Linked DNA regions of Homo sapiens: regions 1, 2, 4 and 5 are each linked to region 3. The links are contacts of gene promoters, found by promoter capture Hi-C in human tissues and cell types (Jung and others, 2019). All regions are on one chromosome and are shown on one strand. The core of a region is centred on a gene start or on the middle of the fragment in contact, and the rest is flanking DNA. Distances in the headings are between cores, read along the strand shown.

Region 1 (4,462 bases), core at 313-2,812, 160 kb after region 3:
GCGCATGCCACTATGTCTGGCTAATTTCTGTATTTTTAGTAGAGACGGGATTTCTTCATGTTGGCCAGGCTGGTCTCGAACCCCTGACCTCGTGATCCACTCATGTCAGCTCCTCGAAGTGGTGGGATTACAGGTGTGAGCCACCGCGCCGGGCCAGGGTGTGGGGTTTAATTGGGATGATATGTTGTGGAGTGACTGGCACATGACAACATGACAAGGACTTTGTCATTGCTGGTTGCTATTACTATTGACTGTTGTTGCTATTATTATTACTAACCCCTCTTCGGTCTGTATGGGCTGGTGCAGACACATTGGGCTGTGATGCAGATCCACAGTTTTCTAGACTTGCACACCAGTTCCTGGGGGATCCTGTTACCACGTGAGTTCTGAGTCAGCTGGTGCAGACACTTTGCATTTCTTAACTCCCAGGTGAGGCTGCTGTGGTCAGGGGCCTGCCCTCTGAGTAGTAAGGTGTCCAGTGGTTTTCCAGGTGTTTCTGAGTTACTTTCAAGGATTCTGCAAATGGAGGGGAGGCATTGGATGCCAGGGTCAAAATAAGATTCCTTAGCTCTTAGCTTTGGGGTTTGCCAATTTGCAGCCAGGTCTGTGTTAATCATTACATATGGAAAAAAGTCATATAACACGACGAAAGTCTTTGCACCATCTCCTCTTCTTTCCTTTTCCAAAGGTGACCTCTGTGGGGAGTTTGGGGCTCATGGTCTCTCTCTGTTGTCCAGGCTGGAGTGCAGTGGCATGATCATAGTTCATTGCAGTCTCAACATCCTGGGTTCAGGTGATCCTTCCACCTCAGCCTCCTGAGTAGCTGGGGCTACAGGCACATGCCACCACACCCAGCTAATTTTTGTATTTTTTTTTGTAGACACAGGGTTTTGCCATGTTGCCCAGGCTGGTCTCAAACTCCTGGGCTCAAGTGATCCTCCTGCCTCGGCCTCCCAAAGTACTGGGATTACAGGTGTGAGCCACCGCACCTGGCCTTAATCATTTTTAAATGTGCAGTTCAGTAGTGTTAAATGTACTTTTATTATGTAACAGATCTCCAGAGCTTTTTCATCTTGCCCAACTGAAACTTTATTTATTTATTTTTTTGAGATGCAGTCTCGCTGTGTTGCCCAGGCTGGAGTGCAGTGGCACAATCTCGGCTCACTGCAAGCTCCGCTTCCCGGGTTCAAACCATTCTCCTGCCTCAGCCTCCCAAGTAGCTGAGACTACAGGTGCCCACCACCACGCCCGGCTAATTTTTTTTGTGTTTTTAGTAGAGACGGGGTTTCACCGTGTTAGCCAGGATAGTCTCAATCTCCTGACCTCATGATCCACCCGCCTCGGCCTCCCAAAGTGCTGGGATTACAGGCGTGAGCCACCACACCCGGCGTCCAACTGAAACTTTATATGCATTCAACAACTCCCCCCATCCCCAGTCCCTAGTAGCCTCCATTCAACTTTCTGTCTCTATGAATTTGACTTTAAGTGCCAAATTTAAGTGGACTCCTGTAGTATTTGTCATACTGTCACTGGCTTATTTCACTTATTGTATTGTCCTGAAGGCTTATTCGTGGTGTGGCATGTGACAGGATTTCTCTCCTCTTTAAGGTTGAATAATATTCCGTTGCATGAATAGACCACATTTTGCCTATCCATTTATCTGTCGATGAACACATGAGTTGCTTACTCCTCTTGGCTATTGCGAATAATGCTGCTTTGAACATGAGTGTGCAAATATCTATTTTTTTTGTGTGGTTTTTTTTGAGACGGAGTCTCGCTCTGTCGCCCAGGCTGGAGTACAGTGGTGCGATCTCGACTCACTGCAACCCCTGCCTCGCAGGTTCAAGTGATTCCTCTGCCTCAGCTTCCTGAGTAGCTGGGATTACAGGCACCCACCACCATACCCAGCTAATTTTTGTATTTTTAATAGAGATGGGGTTTCGCCATGTTGGCCAGCGTGGTCTCTAACTCCTGACCTCAGGTGATCCACCCGCTGTGGCCTCTTCTCAAAATGCTGGGATTACAGGCATGAGCCACGGCGCCCGGCCACCCATTTTAGCTCTTTTTAAGTGTATAATTCAGTGGCATTAAGTACTTTAATATTGTGTAACTGTCACCATTATCCATTACCAGAACCTTTTCATCATTCCAAATAGAAACTCTGTACCTATTAAAGAGTAACTCTCTATCCTCCCTTCCCTCAGCACCTCGTTACCTCTATTCTACTCTCTATATATTGGCCAATTCTTTTTTTTTTTTTTTTTTTGAGATGGAGTCTCACTCTGTCGCCTAGGCTGGAGTGCAGTGGCGCAATCTCGGCTCACTGCAAGCTCCGCCTCCTGGGTTCACGCCATTCTCCTGCCTCAGCCTTCTGAGTAGCTGGGACTATAGGCGTCCGCCACCACGCCTGGCTAATTTTTTTTGCTTTTTGTTTTTTTTTTAGTAGAGACGGGGTTTCACTTTGTTAGCCAGGATGGTCTCCATCTCCTGACCTCGTGATCTGCCCGCTTCGGCCTCCCAAAGTGCTGGGATTACAGGTGTGAGCCACTGCGCCCGGCCTATATTGGCTAATTCTAGGTACCTCATGTAAATGGAATCATCCAGTATTTGTCCTTTTGTGTTGATTTCACTTTACATGTCTTCATGGTTCATCCCTGTTGTAGCATGTATCAGAATTCTTTTCTTTTTTTGTGGCTAAGTTCATCTTCCATTGGATGGATAGACCACATTTGGTTTACCTATTCTGCCATCGATGGACACTTGGGTCATGTCCCCTTTTTGCTATTGTGAACGACGTTGCTGTGAACATAGGCTCTAAGTATCTGTTTGACTTTTTGCCTTCAGTTTGTTTGGGTTTATATCTAGGAGTGGAATTGCTGGGTTGTATGGTAATGATCTGTTCTAACTTTTGGAGGAGCAGTGGCTACATCATTTCACATTTCCACCTGCAGTGCACGTGGTTCCAGTTTCTCCACATCCTTGCCAACACTTGTTGTAGTCTTTTATTTTTTTTCCCCACACGAAGTTTTCAAAATCTGGTGTGTATTTTACACTCACAGCACATCTCAGTTGGGACTCGACATATTTCAAGTGCTCAAATGTCACGTGAAGCTGCTCATAGTGGAAAGCACAAGTTTAGTTGATTTATGTTTTTGGGGTTTTTTTTGAGACAGAGTCTGACTCTTTTGCCCATTCTGGAGTGCAGTCATCAAGGCTTACTGTAACGTTGAACTCCTGGGTTCAAGCGATTCTTTCACCTCAGCCTCCTGATAGCTGGGACTACAGATGTGCACCACCCCATCTGGCTAATTTTTTATTTTATTTTATTTTTTTGAGACTGAGTCATACTCTGTCACCCAGGCTGGAGTGCAGTGGCGCAATCTTGGCTCACTGCAACCTCCGCCTCCTGGGTTCAAGCAATGCTCCTGCCTCAGCCTTCTCAGTAGCTGGGATTACAGGCGCACGCCACCACACCCGGCTAATTTTTGTATTTTTAGTAAAGACAGGGTTTCACCATATTGGTCAGGCTGGTCTCGAACTCCTGACCTCAGGTGATCTGCCCTCCTCAGCCTCCCAAAGATCTGGGATTATAGGCATGAGCCACCACATCCAGCCTAATTTTAAAAATTTTTTGTAGAGGCAGGAACTCACTATGTTGCCCAGGTTGGTCTCAAACTCCTGGCCTCAAGTGATCTTTTTGCCTTGGCCTCCCAAAGTTCCGGGATTACAGATGTGAGCCACCGCACTCGGCCGATTTATGTTTATTATAATTATTGGTATGGCTGGAGGGCAGTGGTATGATCCCGGCTCATGGCAGCCTCTGCCTCTTGGGTTCAAGCAATTCTCCTGACTCAGCCTCCCAAGTAGCTGGGACTACAGGTGCACACTACCACGCCTGGCTAATTTTTGTATGCTTAGTAGAGACGGGGTTTCGCCATATTGGCCAGGCTGGTCTCAAAGTCGTGACCTCAGGTGATCCACCCGCTTCACCCTCCCAAAGTGCTGGGATTAGAGGCATGAGCTACTGCGCCCGGCCTTTCCCTGCTTCTTTTAAATGGAATATTTTAGTGTTCCATTTTATCTCCGCTTTTAGCCTGGTAGCGCTACCTCTTTATTGCTCTAGAGTTTCCATTCTCTGTCTTTGACTAGGACTTTGGCTTTGAATCTGAGTGAGATGGGAGCCATGGGAGGGCTTTGAGCTGGGGAGTGACCCGACCTGACATTTTTATATCCATACCTTGGGTTGCTTATGCAAGAGTGTTTCCACCGGCCAGATTCCTGGAAAAGGAATTGCTGAGGCAAAAGGGAGCGAGCATTTAGACTTTGGTGGCCCCGCCAAGTTGCATTCCAGAAAGGCTTCACCATTTTCACTGCTGGCAAACAGCAGCCGGAGCTTTTGAGTGGCTGTTCCATGCCAGGCCTGTGCCGGACTCTGGGGACCTTGGCAGGAGTCAGCCTGGGG
Region 2 (4,511 bases), core at 1,767-4,266, 200 kb after region 3:
TGCCTAGCCACGCTGGTCTCGAACTCCTGAGCTCCAGTGATACTCCTGCCTCAGCCTCCCAAAGTGCTGAATTTACAGGCGTGAGCCACCGCGCCAGCCATTTTGTGTGATTCTAAATTTTTTAAACTTCCCTTGAATGTTGCCTTTTCAGCCTCCCGTCTCTCTTCCATCCCCCTCCTTTGTCCATCCCTCTCCCACCTACATCCCATAGCTCTGTCCGTCTCTGACCACGTCTTTTTCCTTTTCGCTGACTTTCTCACTCACTGTCTGTCTCTCATTTTCTCCACAGCTGGCCCCCAAGAGGACCCTTTCCAAGTCCCCAGCTGGGGGCCCTGTGTAGACCTGGAGTGGACACGCCCCTCCTTCCCTTCATGATTCGTTTGTAGCGCAGGTAACCAGCGAAGCATCCCTGTTCATTCCTGGAGGGGCAACCGTCCCTCATTCCACCTCCCCAGCACCACCTTGGCCCCTGGATGAGGAAGGAGCATTCCTTCCTGGAAGAGCCTGGCTAAGCAATATCTCTGGTTCTTTCTTCTCCCACCTGGGCCTCCTGGGTCATCTGGGCCATCACCCTGCCTCTGCATTAGCTGCAAGCAAAATCTTTCTCTCTGCCCCTTTCCCCTTTTCTCCAGATTCTTTGCAGACCATGCCTTTGCATGCCTTCTGTGAGCGGGTTGGGGAGGGAAGGGGCTCATAGGTCATGGACCTGGTGACACAGGGGGAGGAAGCCTGGTGGGGCTGGGATGTGGAGCAGGTGGTGAGAGTACGTCCTCACCACTTCTAAGGCAGCGAGAGCCCGGGAGGCACCTCCCCGGGGACACTCCCCACAGCCAGCCCCTGAGAGGTAGAGTAATTGGCGTGTGGGGCTCTGGAGATGCATGTGTCTCTGTGCTGCAGGGAGGGTGATCCGTGAACCCTGGAAAAGTATGTGTCACATTTCTTACCCACATGCATGTTTTGGCATGAAACATGCGTGTGTCATTAGATTTTTCACAACTTGATTCAGCAAATATGCCCCAGCCCACTGTGGGGGGTCCCTGGTCAGGGCTCTTCATAATGTCACTGAGCACTGGGGATGGAGGACTTGGGGGTGGCACTAAGGAGGCCCCTGTTAGGGGAGTTCAGAGTATGCTGTCAGGGTGAGGGGCTGTGAACCAGCTGAGGGTGCATGTAAGATTTTATATGTGGGGTTTTTGGGTGGGAATGGTGACCCGTGGCAGTTGTCACATCGTCAGTGAGGTTTGGGACCCCCTACCCCAACAAAAAAAGAGGGTAAGGGAACTCCACGGTCCTGAGCTGTAAATTCCCACCATTCAGGGATCAGGTCTTCTTTTCCATTGTGTATTGTATGTGTCATTGGGAGGAGACGGGAGCAGAGGGTGCAGGAAGTAATGAAGGGATGAGTGGCTGGAAGGATGGGTCTGTGTGGGTATTTGGCAGAAGGGAAGGAGGGGTGTTTGGATGGAAGCTTGGAAGGATAGAGGGATGGGTAGGTAGATGGATGGAAGGATGGAGGGATGGGTAGGTAGACGGGTAGAAGGATGGAGGGATGGGTGGGTAGATGGGTAGAAGGATGGAGGGGATGGGTAGGTAGATGGATGGAAGGATGGAGGGATGGGCAAGTAGATGGAAGGATGGAGGGATGGGTAGCTAGATGGATGGAGGGATGAATAGGTGGATGGATGGAAGGATGGGAGGGATGGGTAGGTAGATGAGTGGAAGGATGGAGGGATGGGTAGGTAGATGGATGGAGAGATGGGTAAGTAGATGGGTGGAAGGATGGAGGGATGGGTGGGTAGATGGATGGAAGGATGGAGGGGTGGGTGGGTAGATGGGTAGAAAGATGGAGGGATTGGTAGGTAGATGTATGGAAGGATGGAGGGATGGGTGGGTAGATGGATGGAAGGATGGAGGGATGGGTGGATGGATGGAGGGATCGGTAGGTAGATGGATGGAAGGATGGAGGATGGGTAGGTAGATGGATGGAAGGATGGAGCATGGGTAGGTAGATGGATGGAAGGATGGAGGATGGGTAGGTAGATGGATGGAAGGATGGAGGATGGGTAAGTAGATGGGTGGAAGGATGGAGGGATGGGTGGGTAGATGGATGGAAGGATGGAGGGATGGGTAAGTAGATGGATAGATGAAGGATGGGTAGGTAGATGGATGGAAGGATGGAGGATGGGTAGGTAGATGGATGGAAGGATGGAGGATGGGTAGGTAGATGGATGGAAGGATGGAGGATGGGTAAGTAGATGGGTGGAAGGATGGAGGGATGGGTAGGTAGGTGGATGGAAAGATGGAGGGAGGAGGAGACTGATGGCTAGAGGGAGGAAAGAGGAAGCTTTGGAGGGAGGGTTGGCTAGTTAAATGTTTCTGAGGGCTGGTTGGATGTTTGGAGAAATGTTTGGAAAGATAAAGAAGTGGATGGATGGATGGATGGATGGAGGCAGGGAAGGGAGGGATGTTTTGGAGGGTTGGAGGAATATTTGGAGGGGTGTTTGAGGGGAGGGAAGGCTAGATGGATGGGAGGGTGGATGGGTAAATAAATACAGAGAACACCTGCTTCCCCTGGTGTCAGATGGGACTAACGATCCCTTCCCTATGGGGGTGGAACAAGCTAACATTGCTGAAGTGCTCAGACAGTGCCTGGCACCTAGTGAGCACTCGACAAATGTTAGCCATCCTCATCCTCATCATTCAGACCATAGGGCTCAGCCTTGCCCCGGTGGCTTCTCTGACTCAGAGCGCCCCTCCTCATGAGCCCCTCTCCCTTGCTTCTGCCTCAGTTTCCCCACCACCCTCCCCTTCCTTGGGAACACATTGCAGACATCTTCAAGGGTCACCCAGAGCCTTGAGCCACAAAGCCCTTCTTGTCTACACTGGCTCCCTCACTCCTTCACCCGTTTATATGTAGGACAGACCCCCACCACACGCCTCATGTCTGGGGAGGCAGGACAGCAGGGTGGTGAAGAGCAGGGCTCAGGAGCCAGGCTTCCTAGGTTCCAGGCCTGGCTCTGCTGCCTGCTTGCTGGGAGACGGAGGATGACCCTCCCGGTGCCTCCAGTTCTCATCTGCAAAGTACAGGCCGTGGGACCCCTCCTGGGATACCCTGAGGATTAGCTTAGTGTGTGTGAGGCATGGTCAGGACTCACTTAGTCTTGGTTGATATCATCATTATCATCATCAGGTGCTGGGAGAGTTGGAGTGGGAGGAAAAGGACCCTGTCCCTGGTCAGGGGTTTCTGGCTGGGAGGGCACCTGGGAGGTATTCCTTGTCCCCATCTATCCCCATGGACTCAAGGGAACAGAAACTCTGACCCCCTCCAGGGGGCTCCCCTGAAGGGAGGGGGCCAGGCAAGCTGCCAAAATCTAACCTTGTCTCCCTCGCCCTCTTCCTGACCCCACCCCATCCAGTGGCGATGGATGATGAGGATGGGAGATGCTTACTAGACGTGATTTGGTGAGTAACGGGCTCCCCACCCCCTGCCCTCTGTCTCAACCCCCTCCCTTCCCTCCCCTCCCCAGCTCCTTACCTCCTCAGCGTCTCTTCCTCTTCTCTTCCAGTGACCCACAGGCCCTCAATGACTTCTTGCATGGATCCGAGAAGGTAAGCATGGGCGCAGGGAGAGGCATTCCCTGAGTGGGGGGCTGTCTAATTGGGAGTGAGGGACAGGGAGAGACATGTCCCTTTGATGAGGTAGCCATCTGCCTTGTGGCTTCTAACGCCAGGCACTGGAGTTACGGCCATGAGCAAAACTCATGGTAATCCCCTGTCCTCCTTCCATGGACACCTCCTTGGGAAACAAAGAAACCAGTCACTAATAAAGGTAATGGTGAAAAGGACCATGTAGAGTATGATAAAAAATAATAATGTCATTTGCACAATGAAAGAGGTTTAAAAGAAAATAAATGGGTCCCAGGGGCTCCTTTAGATAGTGTGATCAGAAAGGGTCACACGAGGGAGGTAACATTGAAGGTGAGACCTGAAGGATCACAGGGAGGTAGGTGGCCAGGCCCGGTGCTCCTGGCAGAGGGAAGAGCAAGTTCAAAGGTGGGAGAGAGCTTGGCATGGTTGAGGAACAGGAAGGAGGCTGATGGGGCCAAACTGAAGGGAAAACTAGTAGGAGGTGAGACTGTAGTAGGTAAAAGTCACCAGGTTGTGTAGGCCTGGAAGCCCGATAGAGGAGTTGTTATTTTTATTCTGAATGTGACAGGCAGCTCTGATGGGCCCTTAAACACGAGAATGCCATATTTGATTTGCTTCCCAGAGAACGGAACAAAATGGGGAAAAGTAGAAGTCTGTTGAGCTCTGAGCAGCTGTATTAGTATCTATGGCTGTGTAGATTATCCCAGCATGCAGTGCCTTCAACAATTGTTAGAGCTCTTGCAGTGTCTGAAGGTCAGGAATCTGGGAGCAGCTTAGCTCGGTGGTTCAGGCTCAGGGACTCTCATGAGGTTGCAGTCAAGCTGTAGGCTGGGGCTGCAGTCATCCAAAGGTTTGACTGGGGC
Region 3 (4,325 bases), core at 1,401-3,900:
GCAGCCCCCTAATTAGCAACAACTTAGGCATAATTACAAACCCACCAGGATCCAAAGCAAAGGCTCATGCTCCCTTCTCCCTCCGCCTCCCTGGCTTTCAGGAGAAACAGGGGCCAGCCGGGAGTCAGGAATTCTTCTAAAGCATCAAACCAAACCCCGCTCTCTCTGGGAGGAAGCCTCGGCCTGGGAAGTCCTCCCTCAGGTTTAACCACCTGTCCTTCCTGCTGCAGTCCTCAAGAGAGACCACAGCCAGGTGATGCGGGTTCTCATGTCCACCCTCCTAGCCCAGGGGCTGGGTCAAGCACAGCCTAGTGCAATCCCTTTTTCCTGCAAAACCTGGTTTCTCGCTGGGGCCTTGCGAGAGGAGCAGTCAGGGAGAGAAAGCACTAGATAAATATTTGTGAAATGAATGACCAAGAGGTCTGAGCCCTGTCACCAGGGACCGTGGGCTCCCTCTGCTCCTGGCTCCTGCCTCTCCCTCTCCATCCACCAGCAGCCCTGAAACCCAATCTGCTTTTAGAATCCAGGGGCAAAAGGATCAGGTGGAGCCCAGGGTGGGAGCGGGGAGGGCAGATGGCAGGTACCGTCTCCCAGGGCCATCTCTCCCTCCCTTCGTGGGCGTGCGGCCAGCTGGGTCGGCAGTGAGCACCCCTGTTCTGCCTCACGTGCCTCTTAGGTCCTTGATCAGAAGAACAGGACTGCATGCCTGGGGGTGGGTGCAGTCTGGCGTGCCAGGTAAGACCCGTCCTTCATATCCCTCACGCTACCACCCCACAGTGGGGCGGCAAGGGAGGGTGCTTTTCTGACTGTGCCTGTGTTGGGGGGCTGGCCCTTGCAGGACCGAGCTGGGGACTCAGACTTCTAAACATGCACATTTACTGCCCCAGCATGAGCGCAGGCGCTCCCATCACCTCAAAATGGTCCAGTGTGGGGATCACACCACAGAGCTTGGGTGCTCGAGGCTGTGATACACTGATAATACGTAAACTGAGGCCCAGAGGAGGAACAGGGCTCTTAACCTAGTGCTCTTTAAAGCCATCTGAAGCCCCCTCCGTGGGCACTGTCACACAGGGCTGGGACCTCACCTGCAGCCAGGGAGACATCATACACACACACACACACACACACACACACACACACACACACCAGGGCTACAGGCACAGCCTCGTACCTTTTCGCCATCACTCACTCTCTTGCCCACCTTCTCCAGGGCCCCCTTCTCTCAAGGAAGGCAGACAGTGTGTTGGCCAGGGCCCTCTCAGCACCCCCCACTGAGACAGTGTGAGGCTGGCACACCAGGAAAGGGATGGAAGTGAGACTGCAGGAAGGACTGGCCCGGTCTAACTCAGTACCTAGTGCTTGCCCAGAGCAGGAAAGGCGCTCAGTAATTATCAACAAGAATGAATGAATCAAGAGCTGGACAAACAGCAAGAGGTATGGAAGTGAGACGGCAGGAAGGACTGGTCCAGTTACACGAGGAAGACTGGGGAGGTTAGATTGAAGGGAGGTCTGGTCTCATCTCTACTACAGAGGCTACCGGTTAAACTGCAAGAAGGACCGGCCTCAGAACGCCAGAAACAAGGCAGGGGGAGGTGGGCTCGGTCCTCAGGGGAGAGCTGGGGTGGGTGCCGGCTGGGAGGAGTGGAGAGAGCAGGGGAGCTCTGCTGAAGTGGGGAGAGGAGTTTAGAGGACTCCAGGCCTGGGGGAGCCCACTCTGCGGGTGGGGGGGTCTAATTCCTCCAGGTCCCCCCTGCCAGGGGCGGAGACAAAGGTGTGTGGGAGGAGGGTGCACTGGCTCCCAGGGAGAGCCAGAGAAGAGGAAAGAGAGAGAGAAACAGAGACTGAGATATCCAGAGACAGAGATGGAGACGAGGGGGAGATGGGGAGGGAGGGAGAGAGAGAGAGAGAGAGAGAGACATGCGGACATGGGAAGAGACAGAGACACAGAGAAAGCAGAGACAGAGAGAGACACAGGAAAGCTGAGACAAGGGAGAGAGGCAGAGACACAGAGACACAGAGAAACAGAGATGGCGCAAGAGGAAAGGAGAGAGAAACCCAGGACTTAGAGACAGAGCCCCAGAGAGACTCCGAACAGACCCCGGCACAGAGACACAGAGAGAGGGAGACAGGAGTGAGAGACTGAGAGACAGGGACTCCCAGAGGCGGCCAGACTCTGCTAGACAGAGACCCCTGAGACATGTGGAGAGACAGAAAGATGAGACCCAGACACAGGAAGGCGGGGGCAGAGGTAGAGAGCGCGAGGGGGGGTGCCCCAGACGGGGTGGGGGCGGGGTGTCCTCGCCCCCCAGTACCCAGGCGGTCCCCCTCCCCAGCCGCCCGAGAACCAGGAGGGACTGAAGGTGTTGGGGCGGCTGGTGGCACTCCCACCCCACAGAAGGTACGCGTGCTGGGCCAGGCAGCCCCCCACCTCCATAAACCAGCCCAGGGAAGCCAGCTCCAGGCTTCCCGAACCGCCCCCACTCCGCACCTGGGGTAACCCCGTCCTTTTCCCACGCCCCCACCTCCCCACCAATGGGGTCTCTTACCTGCGGCTACAGCCTGGAGCAGGTCCCCCCAGCGCTGGGCTGGCAGTGGTGGGCGACTCCGCCCGAAAGAGAGAGAGAGATTGAGAGAGAGAAAAGCCTGAGACTGAGAGGGAGAGCCGGGGAGGAGGGGAGGGAGAGGGGATAGAGGGAGGAGAAGAGGAGAGGGGAGGGACACGGGGGAGGGGGAGGCGGCGAGGGAGCGAGGGAGGGGGAGGAGCCGGAGAGAGGGGGAGGAGGCGGAGGCGGGCAGAGGGAAGGCGGTGCGGGAGGCGGGGGGAGGCCCGGGGAGGGGCCTGGGGGAGCAGGGAGCCCGAGCCTCCTCCCCAGCCTCCGGGTTCAGCACCAGAGGCAGGGGACAGCACCGGAGGGCGCTCCTGTGTGTTTCAGAAGCAGCCCCCGCCCCCCAACACACACACACACACACGCACACACACACACGCACGCAGTCTCCCAGCCATACAAGGGCCAACAGCTACAAATAGTTACAGACTTACAGAACTAGGGGGAGGGCAAGAATGTTTAGCTGGAGTCAGATCCAAATTCACATACTGTGCCTGCACAGCCTCACAAAGGAGGCCAGAAACAACCACAAAGACACCCATTAATAAGAATAACAACAGCTGCCATACATACAGGCAGCCCTGACCACGTGCCTGGCATCGGCAGCACATTATTATTATTTGAGACAGGGTCTCACTCTGTCACCCAGGCTGGAGTGCAGTGGCACGATCTTGGCTTACTGCAGCCTCAACCTCCTGGGCTCAAGCAATCCTCCTGCCTCAGCCTCCTGAGTAGCTGGGACTACAGGTGCCCGCCACCACCACGCCAGGCTTTTTCCCTCCATTTTTTTTTTTTAGGAGATGGGATCTCACCATGTTACCCAGGCTGGTCTCCAACTCCTGGGCTCAAGCGATCCTTCTGCCTTGGCCTCCCGAGTAGCTGGGACTACAGGTGCCCACCACCACCACGCCAGGCTTTTTTTCTCTTCATTTTTTTTAAGAGACGGGGTCTCACTATTTTACCTAGGCTAGTCTCCAACTCCCGGGCTTAAGCAATCCTTCTGCCTCGGCCTCCCAAAGCGCTGAGATTACAGGTGAGAGCCACCGCACAGGTGAGAGCCACCGCACCTGGCATGTTCTAATGTTTTTTATAAATTTAGGTAAATGCTATTATGAGCTTCACTTACAGACAGGGAAACCAAGGCATGAGGTGGTAAATATGGCTCCAGATTCTACACCCTTAACTGCTGCACCGCACAATTCCCCAGGCTGAGGACGGGTCAGGTCAAGAAGAGACTTGCAGGCTGGGTGCGGTGGCTCACGCCTGTAATCCCAGCACTTTAGGAGGCTGAGGCGAGCAGATCACTTGACGTCAGGAGTTGGAGACCAGCCTGGCCAACATGGCGAAACCCTGTCTCTTCTAAAAATACAAAAATTAGCCAGGCCAGGTGGCACACGCCTGTAATCCCAGCTACTTGGGAGGCTGAGGCAGGAGAAATCGCTTGAACCTGGGAGGTGGAGGCTGCAGTGAGCTGAGATCATGCCACCGCACTCTAGCCTGGGTGACAGAGTGAGACTCCATCTCCAAAAAAAAAAAAAAAAAAGAAAGAAATGAACTGCAAAGGGCCAGGCAGGTGGCCTGGGCTCCTGAAGACACAAACTCATGCACCCTGCGATGGGCCCACACACATACCCCCACGCAAGCACACACCTCTGCAAGGCACACCAGCACTACACCCACCCCCAATCCTGCTCCCCCCCACAACAGGGGGTGATGGCG
Region 4 (4,833 bases), core at 2,002-4,501, 220 kb after region 3:
CTGGGCGTGGTGGCTCATGCCTGTAGTCCCAGCTACTCAGGAGGGAGGCTGAGGCAGGAGGATCACCTGAGCCCAGGAGTTTGAGGTCAGCCTGAACAACATAGCGAGATCTCATTTCTGAAGAAAGAAAGAAATGGAAGGAAGAGAAGGAGGGAATCTCTTGGTGAACAATCCACTCATATGTTAGTTTTTTTGCTTTGGGAAGCTAAGATGGGGGATCACTTGAGGCTAGCAGTTGAAGACCAAATAATAATAATAATTTTGTGCTCATTTAGAGAATGTAGAAAATACAGAAAAGAACAAAGAAGAAAAATAAGTCACATGTAATACCACTGTGTGCAAGCAGTTGGTAAAAAAAAATTTTTTCTGGCCAGGCACAGTGGCTCATGCCTGTAATCCCAACATTTTGGGAAGCCGAGTTGGGTGGATCACGAGGTCAAGATATCGAGACCATCCTGGCCAACATGGTGAAACCCCGTCTCTACTAAAAATACAAAAATTAGCTGGGCATGGTGGTGTGTGCCTGTAATCCCAGCTACTCAGGAGGCTGAGGCAGGAGAATTGCTTGAACCCGGGAGGCGGAGGTTGCAGCAAGCGAGCTGAGATTGAGCCACTGCATTCCAGCCTGGGTGACAGAGCGAGACTCCGTCTCAAAAAAAAAAAATTTTTTTTTCTTTGTTTTGTTTTATTTTTTGTTTTTGAGACAGAGTCTCTCTCTCTCTCTCGCCCGGGCTGGAGTGCAGTGGCGCGATCTCGGCTCACGGCAACCTCTGTCTCTGGGATTGGAGCAATTCTTCTGCCTCAGCCTCCCAAGTAACTTGGATTTACAGGCACATGCCAGCAAGCCCGGCTAATTTTTGTATTTTTAGAGAGACGAGGTTTCACCATGTTGGCCAGGCTGGTCTTGGACTCCTGACCTCAAGTGATCCACCCGCCTTGGCATCCCAAAGTGCTGGGATTACAGGTGTGAGCCACTATGCCAGGCCTAGCTTTGTTTTTTCTAAGACAAATATTGTAGAAGAAGTAATATTTTGGTATGAAGTTTCTGTTTAACCCCCCGACCCCAATTTTATTTAAAACATTTTTTAAATAAGTCATTTTATTCACATAGTATGATCATCAGAAAGTTTTTTTTTCTTTTTTTCCAGAGACAGGGTCTTGCTCTGTTGCCCAGGCTGGTCTTGAACTCCTGGGCTCAAGCAGTCCTCCTGCCTTGGCCTCCGAGAGTGCTGGGATTACAGGCATGAGCCACTGAGCCTGGCCTAATTTATTTTTATTTATTTTTTCTGAGACTGAGTCTCTCTCTGTCGCCCAGGCTGGAGTGCAGTGGCAAGATCTTGGCTCACTGCAAGCTACGCCTGCTGGGTTCAAGCAGTTCTCCCTGCCTCAGCCTCCGGAGTAGCTGGGATTACAGGTGCACACCATCCCGCCCTGCTAATTTCTGTATTTTTAGTAGAGACAGGGTTTCGCCATGTTGGCCAGGCTGGTCTTGAACTCCTGACCTCAGGTGATCCGCCTGCCTGGCCTCCCAAAGTACTGGGATTATTATAGGCGTGAGCCACCACGCCTGGCCACCTGGCCTAATTTTTGTATCCCTTTCCAGTTCTTCGTGTATATACAACCTAGTGCAAATATGGTTTACGTTTCTCTCCCATTTGTACCCAAAGGGGAGCTCATTATGTACTTACTGTGGCAGCAACAGTGAGTTTGCTTGTTTTCTGTTAGAGTCTTGAAGTATTCCTTTGTACAGAAGAGCCACAGTTCATTTCCCCAGGAAATGCCATATTGATGCACTTTAGACCATATCCAGATTTTGGCGTTCTACACGAAGCTGCAGGAAACAACTTGTTCACCTGTTTTGTTTTTGTTTTTGTTTTTGAGACAGAGTTTCGCTCTTTTTGCCCAGGCTGGAGTGCAATGGCGTGATACTGGCTCACTGCAACCTCCGCCTCCCAGGTTCAAGCAATTCTCCTGACTCAGCCTCCCTAGTAGCTGGGATTACAGGTGCACGCCACCATGCCCAGCTAATTTTTGTATTTTTAATAGAGACGGGGTTTCACCATGTTGGCCAGGCTGGTCTCAAACTCCTGACCTCAGGTGATCCACCCGCCTCAGCCTCCCAAAGTGCTGGGATTACAGGTGTGAGCCACCGCGCCCGGCCTACTTGTTCACCTGTTATTTCCCACATATGCAGGTCTGTTTACTTCCTGGAAGCCTGTTTGCTGGACTAAAGCAAATGTGCATTTATAACTTGGATAGCTACTGCTGAATTGCGTTCCTCTTGAGTTGTAGCAAATTGTGCCAGTTGAGACCCCTAAGGGCAGTATATACAAGCATCTTTACTAGACATAGGCTTTATTCCTAATGCGACGGGTGGTAAATGGTACCCTAGGGTGAAAAATAGTGCCCTGGGGTGCGTTTTGCTGTGCATTTCTCTTATTACAAGTGAGGTTGAGTAGCTCTGAAAATACTTAAGCCTTTTGTCTTTCCTTTTCTGTGCACTGTCTGATCATATCCTTTGCCCCTTTTTCACCAGTTGTAATTCTTAGTGATTTCTAGAGTCTCTCTATATATGAGAGAGATGAACTTTGTATTTGGAGTTGCAACTGTTTTCCCCAGTAAGTCATTTGGCATGTGACTTAATTTGTGGATTGTGTGTGTGTGTGTGTGTGTGCGCACTTTTGATGAGAATGAAATTAAATTTTTTTAATTTTTTGGTATCTTTAAGCTTTTTATGTTTAAATGACTTCAAACACATAAAAAGTTTCAGAATTAGTACAGAGAGCTCATAGGAGTTCTTTACTCCTCAACTAGATGTATTAGTTATCTATTGCTATGCAGGAAATTACCCTCAAAACTTAGCAGCTTCAAACAGCAAGTATTCACGTGTCTCACACTGTTTCTAAACATTAGGAATCTGAAAGCAGCTTAGCTAGGAGGTTCTAGCTCTGGATCTCCCATGAAGTTGTGGTCATCTGAAGGTCCCACTGATCTGGAGAACCTGCTCCCACGCTCACTTGTGTGGCTATTAGCAGGAGGCCTCAATTGCTTCCTCAGTGGGCCTCTCCAAAGGGCAGCACATGACACACAGCGGTTGGCTTCCCGCAAAGTGAGTGACCCAATAGAAACAGACAGAATGCTCAGGATGGGAGCCGCAGGCTTTTTATAACTAATCTTGGAAGTGTCATATAATCACTTCTGCCAAATTCTATTGGCCACAAAGACCAGCATATGGGAGGGGACTGAACACAAGGAGGTGAGGATTGTTGGTGGCTGCCTCCCACGTCTACCCATTGTCAGCCTTTTGCTACATCTGCCTTGACCTTAGCATTCTCATTCTGTGTACACTTTTTTCTGAATCAGTTGAGAGTAAGTTGCAACCATTATACCCGTTTGCCCCTTAATATTTTATTTTATTTATTTATGTATTTATTTATTTTTGAGTCTGAGTCTCACTCTGTCGCCTAGTCTGGAGTGCAGTGGTACAATCTTGGCTCACTGTAGCCTCTGCCTCCCAGGTTCAAGCAATTCTCTTGCCTCAGCCTCCTGAGTGGCCGGGATTACAGGCACACATCGCACCCTGCTAATTTTTGTGTTTTTAGTACAGATGGGGTTTCACCATGTTGACTAGGCTGGTCTCAAACTCCTGGGCTCAAGTGATCCACCTGCCTTGGCCTCCCAAAGTGCTGGGATTGCAAGCGTGAGCCACCGCGGCCAGCCTACCCCTTAATATTTTAGTATAATATTTCAGCCTTGGAGAACAAGGACATTCTCTTACTTAACCATCATACTGCAAAGAAATAAAGCAGACAGCATTGACATGATACTGTTGTCATATCCTCTGTCCATAATCCAACTTTACCAGGTGCCCAGGGATCCTGTAATGTTGTATTATTCTCCTATTTCATGTAGCATTGGAGTGCCGCTGCATGTGGGCCACCTCCCTGAGCCCTTGGAACCTACTGAGTGGGCCAGTTCTCTTTTCTCCGACTCAGCGACGCACCTGCCATTGGCCATTTGAGTCATTTCTCCTTTTCCTCTATTGTAAATGCTCCCAAAGTGGGCAACCCCATAGCAAGTACTTGAATATTCTTTTTTTTTTTTGAGACGGAGTTTCACTCTTGTGCCCAGGCTGGAGTGCAGTGGCGCGATCTCATTTCACTACAACCTCCGCCTCCTGGGTTCAAGCAATTCTCCAGCCTCAGTCTCCTGAGTAACTGGGATTACAGGTGCATGCCACCATGCCCGGCTAATTATTTTTGTATTTTTAGTAGAGACAGGGTTTCATCATATTGATCAGGCTGGTCTCGAACTCCTGACCTCTGGTTATCTGCCCGCCTCAGCCTCCCAAAGTGCTGGGATTACAGGCGTGAGCCACCGTGCCCGGCCGAATATTCTTCATCACAGATTCCTGGAGGGGAATTTCCAGGTCAAAGTTGTGACCCTTTCAAAGTCCCCAGACCAAGCTGCCTTCCAGGAGGCAGTCCCACCAGCCGTACACAGCGCCAAGGACTGCGCCTCTCATCTCTTCTTAGAGGTGGCAAACCTTTTGAAGACTGATTGATTGATTGGTTTGGTTTGGTTCTTTAACTGTCAGAAGTTACTCAGGGCCCAGCTTGGAAGGGATGCTGGAAGGGCCCTGGGACTTAGAGGCCAAAGCTGGTGGTGAATCTGATGTCATGCCGAGATGCCCGGTTCTGGAGTGTGGTGGTGCTGGCTGTCCTCGGGCAGATATCCTGAGCCCTCTGAGCCTGAACTCAGTCAGCTTTGAGAAATGGCTCAGAAGTCACTGAGCAGTGTAAAGGCCTCAGTTCCGCCTTCACCAGCCTGGAG
Region 5 (4,668 bases), core at 1,504-4,003, 240 kb before region 3:
CCTGCGGGACACGGGAGGAGGAGCAGGTCAGCAGGGAAGTACCAGGGCCCACTGTACCTCCAGCCTACCCGGGGTTAGGACCCAGATGGAGAAGAGTGGAGGTGTGTGTGCATGCGGAGGGGGTGACGGCCCCACAGAGACACGCCCAGCCGGGGGATGACACCACCGGGTCCTGGCTGGCCTGGAGAGCCTCCCGTGCATACGGTGATGGGCACACAGGAGGGACAGGGGGCACAGGACGGCTCTCACAGCAAGGACAGGGCTCACACAGGACGGATGGAGGGGTCTAGCAGGTGTGTGTATGAGGGCTGTGACAGTCCCACAACACAAACTCACTCCACTTGGGACTCACAGCATGGGCTGGTGGGGACAACTTTCCCAACACAGCGACGGGCACACAGGGAGGGCAGTGAGGCACAGCGAGGCCCCCACAGCACACACACAAGGACTCACACGGGACTGGCCAGCCTGACCGCCCACCCCACCTCCCACTTGCACACAAACACTGAGATGGCCCCAGTCTCGGACATCACTACTCAGTACACACAATACACACACACCCCCGACCAAAGCAGGAGCATCCAGACAGACCATCACAAGCACTCTACATACTGCGCACACTGGCTGGCACAATCCATCCCCACACATCCAAACTGTCAAAGTCTCACACACTGACCCACTGTTGATATGCCCAGGGGCACATGCAAACACAATGCAGCCTTTGCAAACACAAACACACACACACAAGCTAGGCACTGCCTCAGTTCCCAAACATGCCCCTCTCCACACACACACACTCACTCCAGAGATAAGACCTGCACACCTCTGGACTCACATATCAACACAAAACAGACACCCACGGACACACATACATCAACACCCCCAAAACACACCCACATGTCACCAACTCTCAGGACACACGTAGATCAGGCACACACAGACACATGCCATCAGACCTCAACACACCACCAGACACCAACCCACCCTCCTCACGCAACCCTCAAACATCATCACCAACTGTCAGCAACACACACACACACACACCCTACAGCTAACTCTAATCCCACACAGCCCAGCAGCACACACACCTAGCGCACCCACAGAAAACACTGGTCTCACGTGACTGACATAAACACTACACACACGCAGCCCACATGACACACATGAGCCAGCCGATCACAGTGACAAGCCCCTCAGACCCAACACACACACACACACACAGGCTCAGACACAACCCCATCCAGAGGCTGCCAGCAACACCCACCGTCTACACTGCATAGACCCCACAGATCCTGGGTCCTCAAATCCCAGACGCTGATGCCAGACACACAAGCCAAACCCAGACTGAAACAACCCCCCACCACACACATACATACACACACACACTCACACCTGACAACTCACACAGACACCTGGACAGAAAACAGACATTTGCATTTAGCAGGCGCAGCATCACAAACGCTGGGCAAAAGACACATGCCCCGGAGATACAGAGACGGCCTCAGCCAAGACAGAAACACACAGGCAAGACACAAGCACACATATCGCACGCTCGGGCAAGACACACACATAAACACACAAACAGCTCACTCCAGCAACACACACACACTACAACCTCCACACCCCAGCACACGCAGGCACCACAGACCCCCAGTATCATCCCGGAACAGCACACACAGACAACTCTCACCGACAACACACGCAGGTCCACCCACCCCACAAGCAGGGCACCCACAGACAGAACCCCACACAAACAGGCGCGGGGACTCACGCAGACACCCCGACGGGTCAGAAACCCCAACATTCCTCTGGATCGACACCACCACTCCCTGCAGAACCCAGCACAAACTCGGAGCCAGACACGCGCACACACCCAGGCGAGACACCTGCAGATCCACAACCCCGCACACGCGCGCTCCCACGGCGGTCCCAGACACCCCCCTCCGCTGTCACAGCCCCCCCCACCGCCGCCACGTGCGCCCGCCCCGCCCGCCAGGCGAGCGCGGGGCCAATAACCGGCTGTTGCTGGGGCGCAGCCCCCGCCCGCAGGAGCCGCAGACTCCACGGCCCGCGAGCCGCCCCCCGTCGCCGCCCCCAGCGGGCGCGCGCCCTGGGTGTGGCCGCCCCTCCGTGCCGCCCCCCCGCCCCTCCCGGACTTTGGGGGCTGGGGCACCCCTGGGGTCGACCCTCTTCCCCGGGGCCGCACTGGCCGCCAGGGGGCGCTGCCGAGCCCGCACCCCATTGTTTGTAAACAAACCCGCCAGACCGCCGAGGCACCTGTGCGCCCAGACCGGCGCCCCAACGCCGAGCCGCCTCTCACCCGGCGACCCTGGCCCAGGGTCCCTCGCGGGGTTTGGAGAGGCGCGGTGTGGGGAGGCAGGGCGCCCACACTGCTCTCCGCCTGCACTCCTGTCACCTCCTCCAGGGAGTCCACCCGGCCTGGCCGATCGCCGCCGGAGAGGATTCGGGGCGCGCACACTCACCCCGGGGGCATGAACACGCCGGAGGGGGCGGCGGTGGGGGGCGGGCGGCTTCCTTCAGGAGGGCGCGCCCGCCGAGCGCCGCTCTCCGCGGCGGCTGCTGCTGTGGCTGTCGCTGCTGCTGCCGCTCTAACTGCAGTGGCGGCTGCTGTGGCTGTGGCTGCTGCTGCTCCCCGGGCCGCAGGCGCGTCCGCGTCGTGGCCGCTGCTGGGATCGCTGGTGCCGCCGCCGCCGCCGCCAGGCGCCCGCTCGCATGTGGCTCGCGCCGCGTCTCAGGCCGCCCGGCGGATCCCGGGCCCGCTCCAAAGCCGCCCCGCCCCGCCCCGCCCCGCCCCCGCCCGGCGGGTCCCACGCCCCGCCCCCGCGTGACGCTACGGCCCCGCCCGCCCGCCGCGGACAAGTCAGGACTTGCAGGCGCGCGCCGCGCCCCCCCCTACCTCCGCGCCGGGGGTTTCCCTGCAGCGGGGGACGGGGCAGGGCCTAGCCCAAGGCAAGGAGGACCCAGGCGCTGTGCGGCGGGGTGTGGGGAGATCGCCCAGACACCGGGACAGTCGGACACACACACTGACTGGGACCCACAGATCCACACCCCCAGCGATGCGTACACAGACCGACCGACGGGCGTTCCAGGGTCCACAAAGTCACGTGCAGGCAGAGCCCAGAGGATGTACTCACAGACACAAGGCCACAGTCTCGCAAATCCACACCATGGACAGGGGCATGAGCACACACACTCACATACTGATGGGGCTCACACTTACACACACCCAGACGGAAATGCACAGACTCACTAACAGGGTCCCCTGGACAAGCAGACGGACACAATGACAGGGCCACACACAGTTGCAGAAACACCCACACTGATGATCACACCTGGGCCCACAAACTGTGTTCACAAACAACCCTACCGAACAGGCACCCACACCACACACACGGTGGTGCAACCACACAGACATAGGCGGAGTGCTTATCAGGAAACACAAACTTGCTGATAGGCACAGGGGACACACACATACACACAGACACCTGTTACAGGGATACCTGGATACACGGCCAAATCCAAATCACACTCCCACAGGGACATACACAAATGCACTCACACAATTTCACAGCTAACACATTAAAACTATCAGAAAGTGACATTCGCCCGACACGGTGGCTCATGCCTGTAATCCCAGCACTTTGGGAGGCCAAGGTGCGTGGACTGCCTGAGGTCAGGAATTCGAGACCAGCCTGACCAACATGATGAAACCCCATCTCTACTAAAAATACAAAATTAGCCGGGCGTTGTGGCGCATGCCTGTAATCCCAGCTACTTGGGAGGCTGAGGCAGGAGAACTGCTTGAACCCGGGAGGCGGAGGTTGCAGTGAGCCGAGATAGTGCCATTGCACTCTAGCCTGGGCAACAAGAGCAAACTCCGTCTTAAAAATAAAAATAAAGGAAAGAAACTGACATTCAGAGACACAAACCAAATCAGACATAGAAGAAACTGACCACCCACACATGTCACAAAGTCACACCTGTGACAGCTTCTTGCTAACTGGCCCACTGCACACACGTCGGAGCATGCACACCTGGCCACACTCACCACAAATCTGGCAGGGGACCCACGTCGTGGAAGCAGCCCTGGGCACCTGGCATGGACATGCCTGGGCAGACCCCATGCCAAATTTCATCCTGTCTCATAGCTTTCCATTCCGTTTCTTTTTCAGTTTCTCATTGTTACTTCCTGCCCTGCTCTGGTTTGGTGAGTTTTGTCCTTCCTTTTTCCAAAGCCGTGGATTCCTGTCTCCTCTACACTTTCCATCCTTACTGGGTCTCACCCAATCGCAATCGCCTCACCAGAGTGACTCACCTTCCAGTGCCTAGTGTGGGGCTGGCTGAGTAAGGATGTCAGACTTCTCAAACTTGACTGCCTCCAAGTACACACTCTTAGCTCCCCCAAGAGATGCAGGTAATCTATATCTCACGTGAAATCTCCCCATTTGCAACATTGGGAACTCCTCAGCTTTCCTCCCTCTTTCACTTTCCCTCCTCTTTCGCTTTCCCCGATTATTCATTGTCCCTTCCTTCTTCCTGGTGTTTTCCAAACTGTGGGTCATGAGTAAACCATGGATTATGACATATGACATCACTTACATGGATCTTACTTTTTTTTTTTTTTTTGAGACAGAGTCTCGCGCTGTC

The links. Contacts are between HindIII fragments. The study calls those that stand out against the background at their distance.
Region 1: a contact is called between a fragment that was not itself captured here and the fragment with the promoter of SLC8A2 in region 3, in 8 of the 25 tissues and cell types used here (H1 embryonic stem cells, IMR-90 fibroblasts, bladder and 5 more).
Region 2: a contact is called between a fragment that was not itself captured here and the fragment with the promoter of SLC8A2 in region 3, in 12 of the 25 tissues and cell types used here (IMR-90 fibroblasts, aorta, dorsolateral prefrontal cortex and 9 more).
Region 4: a contact is called between a fragment that was not itself captured here and the fragment with the promoter of SLC8A2 in region 3, in 18 of the 25 tissues and cell types used here (H1 embryonic stem cells, IMR-90 fibroblasts, aorta and 15 more).
Region 5: the fragment with the promoter of BBC3 here is called in contact with the fragment with the promoter of SLC8A2 in region 3 in 2 of the 25 tissues and cell types used here (dorsolateral prefrontal cortex and spleen).

What each region holds. Positions count from the first base shown.
Region 1 is chr19:47,627,913-47,632,374 of GRCh38, forward strand. All of the region lies in intron 1 of BICRA (BRD4 interacting chromatin remodeling complex associated protein), which reads left to right. Among named protein-coding and RNA genes, the nearest start is that of BICRA, 21 kb to the left of the region's middle. The HindIII fragment of the contact is 9,138 bases long and covers 1-4,462 here.
Region 2 is chr19:47,670,154-47,674,664 of GRCh38, forward strand. It overlaps BICRA (BRD4 interacting chromatin remodeling complex associated protein), which reads left to right. Exons shown (of 15, transcript NM_001394372.1): 2 at 290-391; 3 at 3,417-3,462; 4 at 3,567-3,609. The coding sequence starts at 3,422. Among named protein-coding and RNA genes, the nearest start is that of EHD2, 41 kb to the right of the region's middle. The HindIII fragment of the contact is 5,493 bases long and covers 271-4,511 here.
Region 3 is chr19:47,469,243-47,473,567 of GRCh38, forward strand. It overlaps SLC8A2 (solute carrier family 8 member A2), which reads right to left and starts at 2,651. Exons shown (of 10, transcript NM_015063.3): 1 at 2,547-2,651. RefSeq lists a silencer at 130-424. The HindIII fragment of the contact is 16,110 bases long and covers 1-4,325 here.
Region 4 is chr19:47,688,141-47,692,973 of GRCh38, forward strand. The region is part of intron 7 of BICRA (BRD4 interacting chromatin remodeling complex associated protein); the gene reads left to right. Among named protein-coding and RNA genes, the nearest start is that of EHD2, 23 kb to the right of the region's middle. The HindIII fragment of the contact is 9,551 bases long and covers 1-4,833 here.
Region 5 is chr19:47,228,446-47,233,113 of GRCh38, forward strand. It overlaps BBC3 (BCL2 binding component 3), which reads right to left and starts at 2,754. Exons shown (of 4, transcript NM_014417.5): 1 at 2,484-2,754; 2 at 1. RefSeq lists silencers at 1-51, 1,912-2,631, 2,772-3,001 and enhancers at 3,142-3,261, 3,971-4,594, 4,021-4,290. The HindIII fragment of the contact is 48,720 bases long and covers 1-4,668 here.